3 separate regions of the Homo sapiens genome follow, and regions 2 and 3 are each linked to region 1. Evidence: promoter capture Hi-C in 16 types of primary human blood cells and fetal thymus (Javierre and others, 2016). All regions are on one chromosome and are shown on one strand. Each heading gives the region's core, a stretch centred on a gene start or on the middle of the fragment in contact. The rest is flanking DNA. Distances are from core to core; before and after follow the strand shown.

What was found. Contacts are between HindIII fragments. The CHiCAGO score rates a contact against its expected background, and 5 or more counts as called.
Region 2: the fragment with the promoter of CRLF2 here is called in contact with a fragment that was not itself captured in region 1 in 4 of 17 cell types (non-activated CD4 T cells, total CD4 T cells, naive CD4 T cells and 1 more); the score reaches 7.9 in non-activated CD4 T cells.
Region 3: a contact is called between the fragment with the promoter of P2RY8 here and a fragment that was not itself captured in region 1, in 1 of 17 cell types (naive CD8 T cells). The highest score is 7.2, in naive CD8 T cells.

What each region holds. Positions count from the first base shown.
Region 1 is chrX:2,592,269-2,595,083 of GRCh38, forward strand. The region is part of intron 1 of LINC03112 (long intergenic non-protein coding RNA 3112); the gene reads right to left. Among named protein-coding and RNA genes, the nearest start is that of LINC03112, 15 kb to the right of the region's middle. The HindIII fragment of the contact is 2,495 bases long and covers 97-2,591 here.
Region 2 is chrX:1,211,244-1,214,058 of GRCh38, forward strand. CRLF2 (cytokine receptor like factor 2) reads right to left here and starts at 1,406. Exons shown (of 8, transcript NM_022148.4): 1 at 1,313-1,406. The coding sequence starts at 1,391. The HindIII fragment of the contact is 4,372 bases long and covers 1-2,815 here.
Region 3 is chrX:1,535,748-1,538,562 of GRCh38, forward strand. P2RY8 (P2Y receptor family member 8) reads right to left here and starts at 1,438. Exons shown (of 2, transcript NM_178129.5): 1 at 1,174-1,438. The HindIII fragment of the contact is 32,946 bases long and covers 1-2,815 here.

The DNA.
Region 1 (2,815 bases), core at 94-2,593:
CTGGTCTTGAACTCCTGACCTCAGGTGATCCGCCCACCTCAGCGTCTATTCTTTGTAACAATCATGTGCCTTGATTTAAGAATTCCCATGTGCTCAAGCTTCTTGACCATCAGAGTGATTGTAAGATAAAGTAAGAATGAGACACCTTGAGGTCTCATTCAGGCCAGTGGGGATGTGTGGGGAAAACAAACAAACAAACCAAAAAAACAGGAAATATGGGTTAGTCACTAACCCTTTAATGGTGTTTCCTGTGTGTTAAAACTTTTTACGTAGAGCCACTGCCTCTCAGGTAGGCAGGACTGTGTCCTTTGTCAAATGAAATAGTGGGGGCAGCAAGTTGAAATCACCTGTGTGATTTAAACCCATGCATTACTTGGGGGAGAACTGTTGACATAATTCAGTGTCAACAGGGGAAGGAACATGTTCTCTTTCCAGAAGGGTATAAAGGTACTGGCCAGGTGCAGTGGCTCACGCCTGTAATCCCAGCACTTTGGGAGGCCGAGGCAGGTGGATCACCTGAAGTCAAGGAGTTCATGACCGGCCTGGCCAACATGGTGAAACCCCGTCTCTACTAAAAATGCAAAAATTAGCAGGGCACGGAAGCAGGCGCCTGTAGTCCTAACTACTCGGGAGGCTGAGGCGGGAGAATCACTTGAACCCAGGAGGCGGAGACTGCAGTGAGCCGAGATTGCTCCACAACACTCCAGCCTGGGCGACAGAGTGAGTCTCTGTCTCAAAACAAACAAACAAACAAATATATATATATATAATATAATATAATATCAGACCAGCTAAAATCACATGTATATGTGGGTCAAACATAAATGTGGTGTTTGAAATGTCCCTTTTCTTTGACACAAAACTTCATTTTTCAAGTATAAAGCCCGATTTTGATGCCCATTTGCGGTGTGCAAGTCCTCATTATTCCAATGCTTCAGAGTCCGTGTTACAGGCAGAAATGTAAATATTTATTCTGTAATCGTCCTTTAATTTTTTTTTGTTCTTTCCTGCATCACAAAGTTTTTGACTGGCTGTTTCGGAAGACTATGTGATAGTTTCCTTTAACAGGGGGAGAAGAGCCCTTCATGATGGCGCTGAAGAATGATGATGCCTGTGTGTGTGCGGACCTGACCAAATTCTCAGGTTTGGGGTTACCCTCTAGATAAAGATTCTGATGGGGAGAGGGAGCTGTGATTTAGTTAATGCTTATCTGACTGCGCCACCTACCGGCTCGGCAGGGAATATGCTGCCTGCCTCTGAGGTTTTCACCGAGGCTGGGTACGGTGGCTCACGCCTGTCATCCCAGCACTTTGGGAGGCCGAGGCGGGAGGATCACGAGGTCAGGAGTTCGAGACCAGCCTGGCCAACATGGTGAAACCCCCGTCTCTATTAAAAGTACAAAAAATTAGCCTGGCGTGATGGTCGGGCGCCTGTAGTCCCAGCTACTCGGGAGGCTGAAGCAGGAGAATGGCGTGAACCCGGAAGGCGGAGTTTGCAGTGAGCCGAGATCTCACCACTACACTCCAGCCTGGGCGACAGAGCGAGATTCCATCTCAAATTAAAAAAAAAAAAAAAAAAGGTGTGTGTACCCCTGCACCCCTGCAAGGGGACACGAGGCACCATGGCCACCTGTCATCGTTCTTAGATCTGAGAAGAGTGAAAAAAAAAAAAGTGCTGTGTACAGATAGATTTTGGAGTTTTAAAGCCTGCTTGCTGTGGGAGACTTTTCAGTATTCAAACTTTTATATTTAAGTACAATTTTTGATGATGTTGTGTCTTTTTTTTTTTGAAATGGGGGTCTTGTTCTGTCACCCAGGCTAGAAAGAAGTGGTGCCATCACAGCTCACTGCAGCCTTGACATCCTGGGGGCAAGCAATCCTCCCACCTCAGCCTCCAGACCAGCTAAAATCACAGGCGTGTGCCACCATGCTCAGCTAATATGTTTGTTTGTTTGTTTTGTAGAGACGAGGTATCACTATGTTGTCCAGGGTGGTCTTGAACTCTTGAACTCAAGAAATCCTCCTGCCTTAGTCTCCCAAAGTGCTAGGATTACAGACGTGCGTTACCGTGTGCAACCTGATATTTTATCTGACAATGGTAGGGAGGGGCCAGAAGAGTCAGGGAGAGGGAGATGGAGACAGAAAGGAAAAGGAATAAAGAGAGAGAGAGAGAGACAAGGAGAGAGAGACTGATGGAAATTCTTTTTCCACCAACCGAGAAGAGAAGCAGCATCCCATCAGAGGGGGTTGATCCAAGCCATCTACTGTATTAGTTCATGAGAAATGACTGGCTGTAACACATGAGCCCTGGAATTTCTGTGGCTTAACAATTAAATAATTATTTCTCACTCATCCAGTTGTCCAGTGTAAGACTTAGGGACCCCTGAGCAGGCGGCCAGCTCTCAGCAAAGACAGCACAGTACCAGGGAAGGGTCACAGGAATTTTGGCACATGGCCAGCTGGTTCCACTGCACCTGCCCAGGGACGCTGGTCTCCAGGCTCCTGGCTTCTCAGCCTCAGCACAGATGTCTGCATCCCCAGAATTTTAAGGGAGGCTGCTGGAAGCCGGGGCAGGAGGTGGGATGAGAATGAAGCTTTTCAGAGCAGAGACCATAACAGACCAATTTTCAAATTGTCTGAAAATGGAGCATGACCCAAATTCTTAGGAGACTCTAGGGAGGAGAGGGAACCGCAATAATAGCCGACATCACATTTCCCAGGGGAGTGGAGTCTAAGAGTCAGATTTGAGTCCGTTTAGATTGAAATTGGAAAGATACAGAGATGGAAGAGTCTGATGTTTCCTCAAAAGGTTAACC
Region 2 (2,815 bases), core at 156-2,655, 1.4 Mb before region 1:
GGTGGATGGATGGGTGGATGGATGGATGGATGGATGGATGGATGGATAAGTGGATAAAAGTGTGGGTGAATGCATGGATAGATGGATGTATTGGTGGGTGGATGGGTGGATGGGTGGATGGATGGATGGATGGATGGATGGATGGATGGATGGATGGATAAGTGGATAAAAGTGTGGGTGAATGCATGGATAGATGGATGTATTGGTGGATGGATGGGTGGATGGGTGGATGGATGGATGGATGGATGGATAAGTGGATAAAAGTGTGGGTGAATGCATGGATAGATGGATGTATTGGTGGATGGATGGGTGGATGGATGGATGGATGGATAAGTGGATAAAAGTGTGGGTGAATGCATGGATAGATGGATGTATTGGTGGATGGATGGGTGGATGGATGGATGGATGGATAAGTGGATAAAAGTGTGGGTGAATGCATGGATGGATGGATGTATTGGTGGATGGATGGGTGGATGGGTGGATGGATGGATGGATGGATGGATAAGTGGATAAAAGTGTGGGTGAATGCATGGATAGATGGATGTATTGGTGGATGGATGGGTGGATGGATGGATGGATGGATAAGTGGATAAAAGTGTGGGTGAATGCATGGATGGATGGATGTATTGGTAGATGGATGGGTGGATGGGTGGATGGATGGATGGATGTATTGGTGGATGGATGGGTGGATGGGTGGATGGATGGATGGATGGATGATAGATGGGTGGATGGGAGGATGGATAGATAACAGCTGGGTGGATGGTGGATGGATGGATGAGTGAATGAAAGGTTGGGTGGACGGATGGCTGGGTGGGTTGATGGGTGGGTGAATGTATGAGTGGATGAATCGTTTGATAGATGGGTGGATGGATATATTAGTGGATGGATCAATGAATAATAGATGGATGGATAGTGGATGGATGGGTGATTAATGGGAAAAGATAGATGAGATACATTGATGGATAGATTAAAAATGAATATATCTACCAATCAATCAATCAATAGATAGACACACACACGCACACATACAGTTCCTAGTTCTGGCCACCGAAAGCTCATATAAGCAGTGGATATTCCGGGAGCAATAAGTATACTTAATATTCATGTATTTACTTATAAATATGTTTTGTCCCAGCTACTTGAGAAGCTGAGGCAGGAGAATTGCTTGAACCCGGAAAAAAAAAAAAAAAAAAAAGAAAAGAAGAAAGAAACCTCCATGCTCATTGTTTAAGTTTTACAAAATAAAGAGTGCCTGGTTGCAAAGCAAACCACAAACCAAAATACAACAAGAAGAGGGTGTTTAAATAATTACCTGCTCCTCCTTGCCCCAAAGCCATCCAGCCTCCCAGCAGAAAGACGGCAGCTCCCCACAGCAGAACCAGCCGCCCCATGCCTGAAACAGGAGTGGAGAGTGAGGTCCTCAGGGACCTACAACGAACAGATCACTCATGACTCATAAGCAGAGGTCACCATCGATTTTAAAAAGTCAGAAAGGAAACTAGGGAAATGATTACAGGCAGGAAGCACAGTGACAGTTGATTTTCAAAGATACACTTGTCAAGAACACACACACACACACACACACACACACACACAATCAATCCAGGATCAGGACTGCCACGCACACTGCTGAGCTGAGCCCTCCCCTTCCCTCCCCCTCCCCCATCTCCTCCCCCTCCCCTCCATTCCCTTCCCTCCCTCCCCCTCCCCTCCCCTCCCCTCCATTCCCTCCCCACTCCCCTCCCCTCCCCCTTCCCCTCCCCTCTCTTTCCTTCCTTTCCCTTCCCCTCCCCTCCCCTCTCCCCTCCCCTTCCCCCTCTCCCCTCCCCTTCCCCCTCCCCTCCCCTCCCTTCCCTTCCTTTCACTTCCCCTCCCCCTCCCCTCTCCCCTCCCCTCCATCCCCTCCCCTCCCCTCCCTTCCCTTCTGCCTCTCCCCCACCCCCTCCTCCCTCCCCTCCCCCTCCCCCTTCCCTTTCCTCCCCTCCCCTCCTCCTCCCCACCTCCCCTCCCCCTCCCCTCCCCCTTCCCTCCCCTCCCCCTTCCCTCCCCTCCCTTCCCTTCCTTTCCCTTCCCCTCCCTTCCCCTTCCCCCCCACCCCACCCCCTCCCTTCCCATCCCCCTCCCATCCCCTCATCTTTTGTCCCCCTCCCTTCCCCCACCCCCTCCACCTATCCCCTCCCCTCCCCTCCATGGATGGTATATGGATGGATGGATAAGTGGATGAAAGGATGTGTGGATAGGTGGGTGGATGGATGGATAAATGGATGAACAGATACATAGGTGGATGGGTGGATGGATGCATGCATAGATGGATACGTAGATGTGTACATCCCCTCCCCTCCCTTCCCCTCCCCCCTCCCCCCACCCCCTCCTCCCTCCCCTCTCCCTCCCCCTTCCGTCTCCTCCCCTCCCCCTCCCCTCTCCTCCCCTCCCCCTCCCCACCTCCCCTTCCTTTCTCTTGCTTTTCCTTTCTTTTTTTTTGAGCTGGAGTCTCACTCTCTGTCACCCAGGCTGGAGTGCAGTGGCACGATCTTGGCTCACTGCAACCTCCTCCTCCCGGGTTCAAGCGATTCTCCTGCCTCAGCCTCCTGAGTAGCTGGGATTACAGGCGCCCACCACCACGCCTGGCTAATTTTTATATTTTTAGTAGAGATGGGGTTTCACCATGTTGGCCAGGCTGGTCTCAAACTCCTGACTTCAAGTGATCGGCCCGCTTCAGCCTCTCAAAGTGCTGGGATTATAGGCGTGAGCCACCGTGCCCAGCTTTTCTTTCCTATTCTTTGAGACAAGGTGTTCGTCTGGTACCCACGCAGGA
Region 3 (2,815 bases), core at 188-2,687, 1.1 Mb before region 1:
CACAAACCCTTTTCTTTTTGGGAACAGAGCCACGTGACCATGGTTCCCCTTTATAGAAATGGGACCTAAAGCGCCACAGCAGGCCTTGTTGTGTGTGGCCTGAAATTCCCAGAGCAGCTCCCTCTGCCTTTTCTCAGCTTTTTAGGGGACAGATCTGACAAGACCCAAGGAATTGGGGTTTCTAAGCGGACCTGTACAAATGAGGTCTGAGGTGGCCGTGAGACCCGGGTCTGGGGTCTCCCTGGCACCGAGGGGGTGACGAGGGGCCACCGTGCTCATCCAGGCACCCATAGGGCTTTAAAACCCGTTTAATTTATGCTTACTCTTCCATTATTGGAACGCTAAGCATTTGGGAGTTATTTATATCCCACGGCTCAAGGTCATCGCCAAGGTCTCATTGCAAACATTGAAAAAACTGCAATCTCAGGCGTAAATGGGTTACGTGCAGCAGCCGCAGCTGCTTACCCTCTCTAAGGTTAACCTCAAGAGAGGCGCATTTCATGGAATGAGTTTTTTTTTGTTTTTTTTTTTCTAAACAGAGTCTCGCTCTGTCGCCCAGGCTGGAGTGCAGTGGCGTGATCTCTGCTCACTGCAAGCTCCACCTCCAGGGATCATGCCATTCTCCTGCCTCAGCCTCCCGAGTAGCTGGGACCGCAGGCGCCCACCACCAAGCCCAGCTAATTTTTGTATTTTTAGTAGAGACGGGGTTTCACCGTGTTAGCCAGGATGGTCTCGAACTCCTGACCTCAGATGATCCACCCACCTCGGTCCCCCAAAGTGCTGGGATTACAGGCACCTGCCACCACGCCTGGCTAATTTTTGTATTTTTAGTAGAGACGGGGTTTCACCGTGTTAGCCAGGATGGTCTCGAACTCCTGACCTCGTGATCCGCCCACCTCGGCCTCTGAAAGTTCATGGAATGAGTTATTAAAGGAAGGGTGGCTTGCAGCCCTGGAAAATTTGAGCATTTCTCCCCTAAGTGACGAAGCGGCTGTGCAAAGTCTTCCTCCCAGGAAATTTGCACTCCTGGTCTGCTCTAGCGTGAGGAGAACACGCCTCATGGAGTTTGCACCGTCTTCCCCCATGTTCTCACCGTACACGGACCCTCCCAGCGACCCTGTCTTCTCCCTTGACAGTGCAGGACAAGCATAAAAGTCCAGCTCGGCGGCTCACCTGTGCAGAAGCAGCGGCAGAAGTAGCAGGTGAGAGCTCAGAGGGTCTCCAGGTAACAGGATGCAACGCTTAAGTCGACGGCCGTGCCTCAGAGCCCGGGACTCGGGGGGCCAGCCACCAGCTTGCAAGCCGTGGTCACTCAAAGTGCTTGAGAAGGTGTTCGTGGGCGGCAGACGGCTGCCCTTCCAGTTCCATCTGTCCAGCAACCTTGCAAAGGCGGCCGCTTCGCTGGGTGGCCCACCGGCTGGCACGACTGTCTCCGAATGCAAATTCTGCAAACTCCACCTCCCAGCGCACCACCACGGTTGCGACTCAGGCTTAGGTGGAAAGGAAGTGTGTTGTGACATTTCCTCTGTAACTGTCTGAACACTCATGTGCAGGGCTGAGCCCACTGGAGTAACGTCGCTGTGTCTCTGGGCAGCACCGTTAACCGCCCACCTCCCTATCACTGGCTCGCAGGGGGCCCTACTCTTAAGAGAACCCTGAGAGTGAGGAAAAGAGGGAGAATGATTTTTCTAAATTTTGTAACCAGCAGTGAAGAGCCGTGGCATGCTCCAGAACCGATTCCTGTTTCTTCTGAAATAACAAAACAAAACAAAGAAAGAACAGAACACGTTTCCTTTTAGACTCTAAAGCTGTGCTCATTGCGACATCTCTTGGTACACAGCCAGACTGTGACAAGCGAACAGACCTTGGGCACTGATCATTCCGGCTCTCACAGTTGGTCACGGGCGCTGCAGGCTCATATCCTCAACATCCCATGGGGGATCGGCCAGTTTCAGGAATGAGAACCAGGTTTCCGAGCTCTGGTATCCTTGCTTGTGAGGAGCAACGGTTGGTTCTTGTCACTCGTGGGAGGAGGTTGAGAGGGAAGGATCTGTCACTGAGAAAGAATGAATGAATATTGAACCACTGCTCAGGGAAAAGACATGGTAGAATCAATCCCTCAAGCCAGGCTGGGTGTGGTGGCTCACGCCTGTAGTCCCAGCACTTTGGGAGGCCAAGGCGGGTGGATCACTTCAGGTCAGGAGTTTGAGACCAGCCTGGCCAACATGGCGAAATCCCGTCCCTACTAAAAACACAAAAATTAGCTGGGTGTGGTGGTGGACACCTGTAGTCCCAGCTACTGGGGAGGCTGAGGCAGGAGAATCACTTGAACCTGGGAGGTGGAGGTTGCAGTGAGCCAAGATCAGGCCATTGCACTCCAGTCTGGGTGACAGTGAGACTGTCCCAAAAAACAAACAAACAAACAAAAAGACCAGGCCTGCTGGCTCACGCCTATAATCCCAGCACTTTGGGAGGCCAAGGCGGGTGGATCACTTGAGGTCAGGAGTTCGAGACCAGCCTGGCCAACATAGCGAAATCCCGTCCCTACTAAAAATACAAAAATTAGCTGGGCATGGTGGTGGATGCCTGTAATCCTAGCTACTGGGGAGGCTGAGGCAGGAGAATCACTTGAACCCGGGAGCTGGAGGTTGCAGTGAGCCAAGATCAGGCCATTGCACTCCAGCCTGGGTAACAGAGTGAGACTGTCTCAAAAAAAAAAAAAAAGTCGAGGCCTGGTGGCTCACACCTGTATTCCCAGCACTTTGAGGTGCCAAGGTGGGCCGGATCACTTGAGGTCAGGAGTTCGAGACCAGCC